2 separate regions of the Homo sapiens genome follow, and region 2 is linked to region 1. Evidence: promoter capture Hi-C in human tissues and cell types (Jung and others, 2019). All regions are on one chromosome and are shown on one strand. Each heading gives the region's core, a stretch centred on a gene start or on the middle of the fragment in contact. The rest is flanking DNA. Distances are from core to core; before and after follow the strand shown.

What was found. Contacts are between HindIII fragments. The study calls those that stand out against the background at their distance.
Region 2: a fragment that was not itself captured here is called in contact with the fragment with the promoter of ADAMTS9 in region 1 in 1 of the 25 tissues and cell types used here (hippocampus).

Annotation. Positions count from the first base shown.
Region 1 is chr3:64,685,991-64,692,055 of GRCh38, forward strand. It overlaps ADAMTS9 (ADAM metallopeptidase with thrombospondin type 1 motif 9), which reads right to left and starts at 2,010. Exons shown (of 40, transcript NM_182920.2): 1 at 1,553-2,010; 2 at 578-978. The coding sequence starts at 1,667. All of the region lies in intron 1 of ADAMTS9-AS2 (ADAMTS9 antisense RNA 2), which reads left to right. The HindIII fragment of the contact is 6,670 bases long and covers 1-5,292 here.
Region 2 is chr3:65,404,777-65,410,622 of GRCh38, forward strand. The region is part of intron 12 of MAGI1 (membrane associated guanylate kinase, WW and PDZ domain containing 1); the gene reads right to left. Among named protein-coding and RNA genes, the nearest start is that of LINC02040, 230 kb to the left of the region's middle. RefSeq lists an enhancer at 3,510-4,049. The HindIII fragment of the contact is 3,453 bases long and covers 2,723-5,846 here.

The DNA.
Region 1 (6,065 bases), core at 760-3,259:
GGGACGGGACCTGCTCCCTGTCAATCCAGTTCAGCCTCAGGGTTCCTGGCGCGTGAATAAAGGCCCTGAGAGAAAGCGGGGACTCTAGATTACGCACCGCCCTCCACAACACACACTGAAGGAACTCCCAGTGCCTTGGGCAGGGGATCCTCAGCCCCACATCCCCGATGCAAGGCGCACCAATAAGGAGTCTGGTCCGCCCTGCGCTCAGCGGCTCCGCTCCCGGGTGGCCAAGTTTGCTGCAGGGAACCGCAACTCCAGTAACTTTCTCCGAGTTTGGAAACTGACTTCCAGGCCGCCTCGCAGCGTTGGGCAACGCGCCGCTGAACCGAGTCCAAACTCCAGAAAGCTCTGAAACATCCAGAAGCCCCTGGGGGCGGGTGTGTGCGCTCCACGCCAGTGTACTCGCACGCACAGAGCTAGCTACCCAAACCATACGAGTTTCTAGCTGATATTTAACGCCGGAGAGGAGCGGAGCCTCGCCACAGTGAGGGTCTCTAGGCTTAGAGGACAATTAAGTCTTCTAGAAGCGGGCGAGGAGGCGGAAGGGGAGAGGAGGTGGCGCGCGCCCACTTACCATTCCTGAGCAGAGGCTGATGACGGCCGTGTGCTCGGAGTTGGTATTGACATAGCCTTTGTAGAAACAGTGCTTGAGTTCCGCTTCCTCTTCGGAATAAAACTTGGTCTGATTCACCCCGGGCGTCCCGAGGAGGGTGACAGTGAACAGTGGAGCGATAAATCCGGCATTGGCGGTGAGATTAAATAGAAACTGCTGGCCGAAGGCAGAGAGGCGGTAATGCGCCTGGGAGGAGGTAGAGGAGGAAGAGGAGGAGGCGAAGGCAGGCCAGGGGTCAGTGGCAGAGTTAATGCTCCGTCGCGTTCTTTTGAAGTGGACGTTCGTGGGAAAGGGTTCTCCGAGAGCGTTCACTCGGATGGGAGACACGATTTCGTATTCGCTCAGGGTCTCTAATAATTTCACTGCGGAGAGAAGCAGAGGTATATGAACCAATAATTCATTTTTCCTTAAGCTTTAATTTAAAACGAAGGTGGGGACTTTGTTCTGACCTTATTTTCCAGCCCATTCGAGTCAATCCCTTCACCCTTAATCAGTGGACAAATATTTGCTGAGCACCTACTATGTGCCAGTAACAGGACCTGTGCTAGGTGCTGAGGATACACTATTCCGAGCCAGACAATTAACAAGTCAAAATATATATGATTTCAGATATTGATAAATAACCTGAATAAAATAAAACATGACGCTATCTGGTGCCCCCAATTACTAAGTTACTTTAGTTTGCGGCGTGGGAGTGGGGATGGGGATATATCTGGCAACAGCAAGGTAGGGGGGGGTTGCCTAAATTCGTTTCCATAGTGTCCCTCCCTAGCAATTGGTTGGGGATGACCCAAAGAAGGGAGAGGCTGCAAAGCGGGAGATAATTCTTTCTAGGAAAAGGAGAGAAGCCTCCGCTGCGGGGTGCCCCTGCCCAGGAGCGAGGACCGGGAGGCGGCGTCGGGGCCGGCGGGGTCCCGGGGGCCGGAGCCTGGTTACCTTGCCTCGGGTGCAGCCTGTCCTTGCGCACGGCCGCCGCGGCGTCTGGGCTCCCCATCTCGGCCAGGTCCCGCACCAGGAGCGTTAGCAGTGTGGCCCAGGATACAAACTGCATGGTGCTTCCCACCCCTCCCTCCGCTGCCCCCACCCCCCTCCCTCCTGCCCTCCTTGGCTGCGGCGGCGACGCGAGGCAGCGGCCGTGGAGAGCGCGCGGAGCCCGGCGCCCGCCGCCAACTTTTGACTTTAGGAGTCGCTGAGGTCTCGCTGCGAGGGTCCCGTCTGCGCTCGGCTGAGCAACGCCGCCGCCTGCCGAGAGCTGAGCCGCTCGGGCCGCAGGAGGAGCCGGAGGAGCAGGAGGAGGAGGAGGACTGGGGCTCGGCTGCTTGGCCGCATAATGCCCAGCGAGCGGGCAGGAGAAGGCGAGGAACTTGCGCTCCGAGGCGCGCCGGGCGCCCTGTGCTGGCCGGGATAGCTGAGCGGCTTCTTGAATGGGGGGCTGGGGGGGCGGAGGCGGGGGGGCCGCGGGTCCACAGCCTCTCAAATGCCCCCGGTGCACGCCTCTAAGAGGAGGAGAGGGGAGGAGAAAGCGAGACGAACGGGGACCGCCTCCTTCCAGACCATGTCCCCTCCTCGGCCGGCCCGTGCGGGACTCGCAGCCGGAGGCCCTGCCGGCTGCAAGAGGCGGAGGCCAGAGGCGTCACCAGCGCCGGGGCAGCTGTTCCTGGTCCCCGCCACCTCGCTGAAGTGGGGTTTTCTGAGATTCCCTGCCCCGGGGAGGGAAAGCAGGGAAAGTTCTCTCCCTTTCCTGGCGCGCGTGCAGCCACTTCCCCTCTCGTCTTTTTCCTCTCCTCTCCTCTCTCTCCTCCCTTCCGAGTCTCTTTTTCCTCCTCCCCCTTGTCTCTCTGCTGCTGTGCCTCTCGGACTCTGTCCCTTCTCCCCATTTTCCCCTGTGATGTCTGTCTTCTCCCCGCCCCACCGTGTCCCTGTCTGTTTCTCACATTTCTCCTTTTCCTTTCCTTTCTCTTCCGTCCCCATCTCTTGCCACCAGTCCCCATCTTTTGGTTTCTTACAAGTGAAAGTGGCCCAGCGCCGGAGCGCCTTCCCTTCCTACACTTTTTCATTCGGGAAGAGATTTGGCACCTGAGCTCCGCTCTCGATTTAATCACCCCAAGTCAAGAGTTTTAGAAATGGGGTTCTTAATCCTGCAGGTCGGAGTGTGTTTCTAATACGTGGTCTCTTGAAAATTTCGCAAAATATTTAAGCTGTGCTTTCCACCAACCTCTGTCACCATTCATGGAGGGTCCATAGCATTCTGTAGGTCCCCTGCCCCAAAAAAGGTTAAGAACAAATTTTGGCAGCAAGAAGGGGCGGGGACTCTGGCGCCCCTCACTACCAGGGGGTTTAGAGATGGGAGGGGAAGGGGGGATGGAGTGTAAAGTTGTAGATCCCTGTGGGAGGCACCAGTCCCTGGAGGGATTTCTCAATCACTTCCGCTTGCTTTCAGCCTGAGAGATGCTTGGAAAGACTGGGAAAGACTGAAAGCAGGCGCTTCAAGCTACACCTTCGTGTGTGTGTGTGTGTGTGTGTGTGTGTGTGTGTGTGTGAATTGTTCAATCTTGGGTGGTTCAGTGGCGCCTTTTCTTTAACCAGCCCTCAGGAAGATAGAATTTCAAGATAATTTCAAGAGGAAAGACATGACAATATCGTTAAAAATATATAAATATATGACTAATAAATATATATTTGCCCAAGTATCCTAGAACGGGGGTTGAGGTTCTGTTGCGTGGTAGGTTAGCACTCAGGACTAGAAATACCAAAGATTGCCAACACCAGGAACCAAATCGCAATATGCTAGCAATGTCAACTATTCTTGAGATACTAATACATATATTTCTTCTGGTGAAGGGTAAAAATGACTTGGCAAGACGAATTTGCTAAATAATTGTTAACCCAAATTGATAATGTTACCATCGTCTTATTACTGGAATTTCATAATGGATATGTAAAATGTAAGGATGGAAAAATAACATCTGTATTGTGCACAATTAGAGATTTTTAGAGAATGGCATTTAAACCTTGAACCTCCAAATTAATTCACTAAAATACGTTTCTTCTAATACACAATCTTTCTTTTTATTATAACAACATTCCCCACAATCACAGTGTCTGGGAGTTGCTGAAAATTTAGTAAGGAACAGAAAAATATCAAGAAATCAATCTATTGGCTGATTCCTGTGGAAAATATTCCAGTACTTCCATTGTAAAATTACTCAAAAATATAGCACTTTCCAGTATTTCCCATTAAATCTTTTTTTCTCTTTCAGTTCAAATCCTTCCTGACAAAGAGAAGTTAACTAATGGTATAGAAATTACGATATGTAGGGACAGAAGCCTCCTTTGTGTACTCTCTCTCCTTTGCTTTCTTTCTAGGACTTTGCTTGAAGAATGAACTTTGTCTACAGTTTTAAAAAATTGATCCACAAGAGCTGATAGGCCAGAAAGATACAAAATATCTCTTGGTGAACTCCTGAGGTGACCAAGAACCTAGGTTTATGAATTTCTCATCCTTAGTGAGTCTACCCATCTTTTCTTCAGTGTATTAGCTGGCTTCTGCATTTACATCTGTAAAAAAGTCTTAAAGAATCTTAGGAAAATGTCTTTTAAATCGTGAGACATGAAAAAGACAGTTGAGCTAACTAAGCAAGTCAGGCAAAAATCTTTTGTCTGAATAATTACTCTTTGTCTAAATAAGTACTCTTATTCAGTACTTACCATGGGGTAACATATAGCATTTAATTTAATTCTCAAAACAGCTCTTTCAGGAAGTCAGTGTCAGTAATCTCATTTTACCAATAAGGATACCGAGATCTGAATAAGTGAAATAATTTGACCCCCCTCAATCCAGTAAGTGAGAGACACGATTCAAACTCCGTTTCAGTCGTTCAATCCAAGTTCATAACTATTATCATATGTCATGAATAACTGATTAATCAGAAGCACTGCTAGATTTTTGGAGGGTTGCTTTGTGGGAAAATGGCTAAAATCATTCAGAGAATTGCCTCAAGCTTTTATTGCATGTATAACTTTTCTTTAGCTCTCTCTTATTCTTCTCATGCAAAGTATTTAATGAAAATCATGTCAGCGATTTCATTGATATTTCACAGCTTTTCCCTCAGCAGTTAGAAGAGATCTGGCACATAGTAGGTAGTCAATAAGTATTTATTAAGACTAGGCATGGTGGCTCACACCTGTAATCCTAGCACTTTGGAAGGTTGAGGTGGGAGGATTGCATGAGGTCAGTTCAGCGGTTCAAGACCAGCCTTGGCAACATAGCAACCCCTTGTCTCTACAAAAAAAGAGAAAAGAAATAATAAAATGAAATAAAATAAATTGGCCCCTCATAAAAATTTGCTCTGAAAGAAGCAAACCTTTTCAAGGTCACCTGGAGTTAAAGGAGGGACAGTTTTTAGCCCGTTTTCTTCGTGGGACTTTACTGGAATTGAATGGTATTGTAGGTTAAGTGGAAGTATTCATTGGCTGATTCGTCATGAAAATTAGATCCCAGAGGAGTGATGAATGATATTAGTCACTAGGGAGAGATAATCCGGCCAATGGAAATGACAGTGATGACATCACAAATGACTCTGTTTGCCTAATGCCACTGGAAACAGCAGGAAGGAGACTTGAAGCAAAGCCATCAATTTCCACAGAAAGGGGAAACCCACACCCAAATGGTAGGGAGGGCCCAGGAGCCAGAATTCAAGTGAATAGTTTCCTGAGTGGTCAGCAGCGTCAGGTGATTTGGGGAACAGATAAGCCCCTGGTACTTGGTAGCACTGCATTCTGGTCAGTGAATCACCAAGCTGGGACCTGGTGCTGGCTGAGCTCTGTGACCTTGGGCCTAAAGAATCTTAGGGAGATGTGTTTTACATGACAAGAAATGAAAAGGACAATTGTGCTAACTAAATAATTTGGGTTCCAATCTTTTGTCTGAATAATAATAATGAGAATCTTTTCTTGAGTACTTACTATGTACCAGACCATGTGTACTATGTCCTCTCTGATCCGGTTTCCTATTTGCAGACTGCAGCAGGTAGAAACTGTGTTGTCTTTGTTTGCCCTGTGAGTGAATGACCTTAGTGTATTTTTTAAAAGTCTTCTAACTACTGACTTCAAGCAACAGGTACTGTAGAGAAAGTAGTTTGTATCATTATTGATAATAACAGTAGATTCCCTTCATTGAGTTCTTTGTGCTAATTATTCAATCCTCATAGCTATCCTGCCATCTGGGTTTTACCCTCCTCATTTTACTTACAATGAAAATAAGACCCAGCAAAATTAAAGTGACTTTGCCTGGCATTATGGAGTCAGAATGTGCAGTTGGGATTTACACTGGGGTCCAGTTACCTCCAAAGCTTGTGATCTCCATTAATCAGAGCAGCCTAGTAACATAAAGACTGTCGCCTAATTGATCTTCATCATTCAGCATTTATATTTGGCCTGATGAATACCA
Region 2 (5,846 bases), core at 3,199-5,698, 720 kb after region 1:
GGAGATAGCGAGTATGTAACTGGTTAACTGCAGACATATCCCTACCAGCCAGGCCATAGGAAGCAACATCATCCCATACTTCATGGCATACCAGTGGTCTTCCCTAGACAAGCAAACACTTTGTATGCCTTGTGGCAGCAGGAAGTCTGTGTTCTACAAATCATGTCACATATCACATATAAGGCATACATATAAGGCATACGGCACCTGTCTTAATGGGCTTGTCTGGTCCATTCAGGGTAAGGAAGGGGAACTCTCAGAAGAGGCAGAAGAAAGAGTTTATGGATGGCAGCATCCGCTCTTAGGGCCTTAGAAGGCAGCAAATATTACTTCTAAGGGATCCCAGAAAACTATTCCAGGGAAGTGTATGTTCAAAGTGTGATCTGCAGGAGCGAGAAAAGCTTGGGACTTGAGTATCTAAAGTTCTCTATTAAAATGGTGTCATTTTGGAAAAAACGAATGGCAAATTCTTTGCTAGTGACTGGGACCTGACCAACTAATGTAAGGAGGAGAAATCTGTTTTCCTCTAAATATCAAGGCCATAAACTATAACTAAATGGCAGAATGTCATAGTTGGTGAAATTTTATAATGCTTGTACACAAATAATTTATATGAAAAAAGTAAAGCTGTAACAGAATACATACCATTTTGCAAAGAAAGGCTAGAAGGTTATGTGCGAAAACAGTATTTTCTTTGGCTCATGGGATTATGCGTGGCTTTATTAACTATTTTTAGTATCTCTACATCAAGAAAAGCTTTATTTATTTATAAATACACACATACATATCCACAGATACCACAATAAACAAAACTCTATACTGCTTCTTTTTTTTTTTGGACAGAGTCTCCTTCTGTTGCCCAGGCTGGAGTACAATGGTGTGATCTTGCCTCACTGCAACCTCCGCCTCCCGGGTTCAAGCAATTCTCCTGCCTCAGCCTCCTGAGTAGCTGGGATTACAGGTGCACGTCACCATGCCTGGCTAATTTTTGTATTTTTAGTAGAGACGGGGTTTCACCATGTTGGTAAGGCTGCTCTCAAACTCCTGACCTCATGATCCACCCACCTCAGCCTCCCAACGTGCTGGGATTACAGATGCACGTCACCACGCCTGGCTAGTTTTTCTATTTTTAGTAGAGATGGGGTTTCACCATGTTGGTAAGGCTGCTCTCGAACTCCTGACCTCATGATCCACCCACCTCAGCCTCCCAAAGTGCTGGGATTACAGGCGTGAGCCGCCACGCCCGGCCTCTATACTGCTTTTTAAGATAAATGCAGCATATTTCAGAACATTTTGTTGCATTTTAAAATCCCTTGAGCATCATTGATCTCTATATCCTCCAAGAGTTGCTTACTTTTCCCCAAAATGAATGCATACATATAGTTTTATTAAAGAACCCTCATAGATTAGGACCTGTGCTTGTCCTACTGATTAAATGTAAATACGGAAGAAGTAGGAGAGCTCAGCTGGGCTGTTGGGGAAACCAAGCAGAAGCCGAGCATTGCCATTTCAGCACTGAGACAAACAAAACCTGAGTTGCTGGGAAAGAGAGTGGACCTCTCTGGACCTAATTTCCTCCAGGTTTAAAGGAAGTGGGAATGCCAACCAACCTCACTAACTGAATGAATCAAGAAAAACTGCACAAAGAGGCTTTGAAAGGGTGAATCCTAAAGTGTCTGTCACATACAAAATGGATCTACGCATAAGAAAAATGTACTATTTTTGTCATCAATTTACATTTTTTCATTGTGATATTCATTCCCCTCTGCATTTGGGTCTCCCGACTTCAGCATTTTAGTGGAAACATTTTGCTTTCCTCCTAAGCATTCCAACAAATGCTGTGTCACTAATCCACATGTCACTGAACACATGGGATACCTTACAGTTTCGCAAGGCAAATGTTGCAATAAAAACTGAAAAACTGTCCTGGAGTTGGATTAGGTAATACAGTGTGCAAGGGGCAGGGAACTGTGTGTGTGTATATATATGTATACACACATACACACACAGTTATAGATCTCTCTCTCTCTATATATATATATCGAGGGGGAGAGAGACAGAGAGAGTAGGAGCTAGAGAGGGAGTCATCAGGGACCACTGAAAGCCACTGAAAGAAAATGACTGTGAGGTCTTGGTCAAGGGCTGGTCTTAGATACCAAAGAAGATAAAAGTACTTCTGAGCACAATCTCAGACCACATGAGCCTTCTCTGTTATTCGAAAACCTATCAATGCATAATTCTAAATGTAGGACTTTAAATTTACAATTAATTTTAACTCAGTAAACTGATCATTAGGAGTTTGTATTAAGGAAATAATCAGTCTTGCAAAAATTCCTATAAAAAGATGGTCGACACAGCACTATTTTAAGATGATAAAAAATGGAAACAGGCAGGGCGCGGAGGCTCATTCCTGTAATCCCAGCACTTTGGGAGGCTGAGGCAAGTGGATCACCTGAGGTCAAGAGTTTGAGACCAGCCTGGCCAACATGGCGAAACCCTATCTCTACTAAAAATACAAAAATTAGCTGGGTGTGGTGGCAGGTACCTGTAATCCCAGCTACTCGGGAGGCTGAGACAGGAGAATCACTTGAACCTGGGAGGCGGAGGCTGCAGTGAGCCAAGATCACACCACTGCACTCCAGCTTGGGCGACAGAGTGAGACTCCGTCTCAAAAAAAAAAAAAAAAGGAAACAATCTGAACTTCCAAGAGCGGAGGACTGAGTAGAGAGATGTGTTATATCAATACGATGAAAAATTATGAAACCATTAAAAATGAGCACAACAAAGAATATTCAGTGATTGGGGGAAATAATAATGATATAAGACATGAACAGCAGGGTAAAAACTGTGCATAGAATATATAAACTCATTGTTAAAAAGTGGATATACATATATATTCACACACATCATATACCCAAAGACTAAAGGAAATGCACTAAAATATTTTTCTAAACACTAGGATTAATAAGTAATTCATATTCTTATTTTCAGTATTTTCAAAGATTGCTGGATTTTACACATAATGTGGCAATAATCATCAACAGGATCAGTACTGCAGCCAATATGTAGCATGCCTGGACAATGGCACATACTGGCCTTAGCGCAGTGCTAGATTAAAAAACAACTGGAGTTTGTTCTATCTCTCCTTTGGCTCAATGACTTACTACCATTCTACTCAAGTGTTTATGCTCCTAAATTACTGGGTCATGGCCTTGATTGAAAAATGTGACACAAAGCTGTTATAGCCCCTCTCAAGCAAAGCTGCACAGAAGCACATAATTTTGCATATAATTTCAGGGAGTCTTTGAAACCTTCACTAGTGACCCTCAGAAACCCACTCTATTGGGGCCTATAGTCCTTAAGTTAAATCATCCTTGTCCAAGTATATGGCTATAGCATTAGAAGCAATTCCTAGGGTGAGATTTACTTTAGCTTAGCTTTTATTTTCAGTAAGAGCAGCATATAAGTAGAGGGGCCAATGGGAAGGATCAAACAGAAAGGTAAAACTTGCATTGCTTACTTCGCCTTCTTTCTTGGAAAGATTTAAAAGACACATCTGAAAAAATTATGAGGAGAGGAACTGTATTAAAGAACACAGGTAATTTTCAGCAAAAGTGCTGCTCCCTGGTAAAAGGAATGTGCCTCCTAGGCCATGCTTTTATTTGTTGGGGGTAGTAGGTTGATGAGTCAAAACAGTAAGAGATTATCGAGGCAAAGTCACAATGGGGTGCAGGAAAGACAAATTGAGAACAATCTGAGACTTCCCCAGCCAATCAGAATTGATGATTATTTGACTGCAATCCAGTGGTTCTAAACAATGAACATCAATGGCCGGCAACCCTTCTAAAAAAAAGCCATCTGCATCATTTCCTGCCAACCAGTTTTTTGTTTTCTTTGTTTAATAGAGAATATATAAGCCATGAAATAAATTTAAACTGTTCTCTCTGTACCAATAAAAAGCTAACGACAGTCCAGAAAACAGGAAAAGGTACATTCAGCCTTCACAGTTTCCACTGAGGGTAGGAAGGAAAACAGGGAAAATTCACTCACTCATGTAACCAAACTGTGCTGACAGCCTAGGAACTGGCATGAAATAAAGCAATGGGCAAGACCTACAGGGTCCTGCTTTCACAGCGCTCACATTCTGTGGGGAGACAGAATAAACAACTTAGCAAACAATTTCAGAGAGTGGTAACTTCTGTGATGAAAATGACGCAGGACAATGGAACAGGCTGTGCCGGGGATGCACAACTACTTTATGTTGGGTGATCATGCAAGCCTTTCTTGAAGAGACCGTATTTGAGCTAAGAGCTGAAGTATGAGAAGGAACCAGTCATGAGACCATTCATTCATACAAGATTTATTGAGCTCTGCCATATGCCTAGCAAAGCATCACTAAGAGATAAAAGTAAATCAGACATGGCCCCTGCCCTGGAGGAGCTCATAGTCTATTTTAAAAGAGAAAAAGCAAAGCAACCGTTTTATAATTCACAGTGGTAAGTGTTACATGCCAGGAGAGAAGGGAGCACTGTTGCTTTCAGGAATACAGGGAAGAGAAATCTAATCCGATATGAAGAAGGGGGCAGAGGGAGGAGCTGAAGTGAAGAATGGCTAGCATTTAATCGTGGGGTGGGGGAGTGGGTGGAAGCACATGCAATGATTGATGCTTGAGTGAATAATGATGATAAGCTTTTCTTGTTGTTGTTTTGTTTTAGCTAAATCAGTGTACCAGCATAAACTCAAGGCCAAGCTGAAACCAGAGTACATTTTCACTGAAGGACTTTATAAACACTATATATCACAAAATTGAATCCATAAAAAGGAATGAAAAAACGATCCCAGTTTGAACATGTTTCATTTTTTTTTTCTCCTTCTTCTGGCTAAATACCATCATAACCCCGTAGCATAATTTTTCAATACAAATATGATACCAGCTGCCAAGAACATAAGTATCAGACCCAATGTCTCCAAAAAGATGAAGACATTCTTTCCTTTGGGGACTTAATAATGGTCATTATGAAGTATTTTGACCATCATAATTTAGAGAGATAGTTGGACTTCAGATGTCTGAAATAAGTAGCTCCCAAGGCAGTGTCAGCTGGCATTTTGTGAAGAAGATTAAGAACATAGTTGTACTGGTTTTACAGCTACAGAGAAGTCTGCTTCAATTACACAGTACACATAGTCTAATAAATATGTCCCAGTAGAAATAAATGGCTTGCAAAGCTGGTGATTCCTGATGGCTTACAGAGCCTTTCACCTCAAAGTCACAAGCCTTGACCTGGCACAGGTAAGAAAGACCTAAAGTCATAAATACCTTGGACTGCTCAAAGACCTGGGTAAGATGGATGAATTGTCTCCATGCAATTCCTGAGAAATAAATGGTCACTCCAGAGAAGGTGTCATTGAAATGATATGGATGATCCTATTGTTGCTACTCTTGAAAACATGTGAAGTATGCCTAAAGGTTGAAAGCTTAGTGCAAAAATAACTAAAAAGTATTCAGAGCCTGTCTTTGACATAAATTTATTCTTCGTACCTGCACTCTAAGTACTAATATCTTCTCATTCTGCAGAAGAGAAAACCAAGACACTGATGGTCAAGTAACATGGCCAATGTCACACAGTCAGGTGAATAGCTGGGGATACTTGGTCTAAAACCAAGCCTGTGCTTTTAAACTATATGCTGTCATTCAAAGGTTCCTTAATTATTTTGGTTTAGAGTCTACTACGATAAGATTAATCCTATAGCCATTCATACATACCAAATGCATTTACAGAAAATTTTTAATATAGCTTTATGAAATACATGGACCTACCACTGACAACTGCTAGGTCAACGGGGTC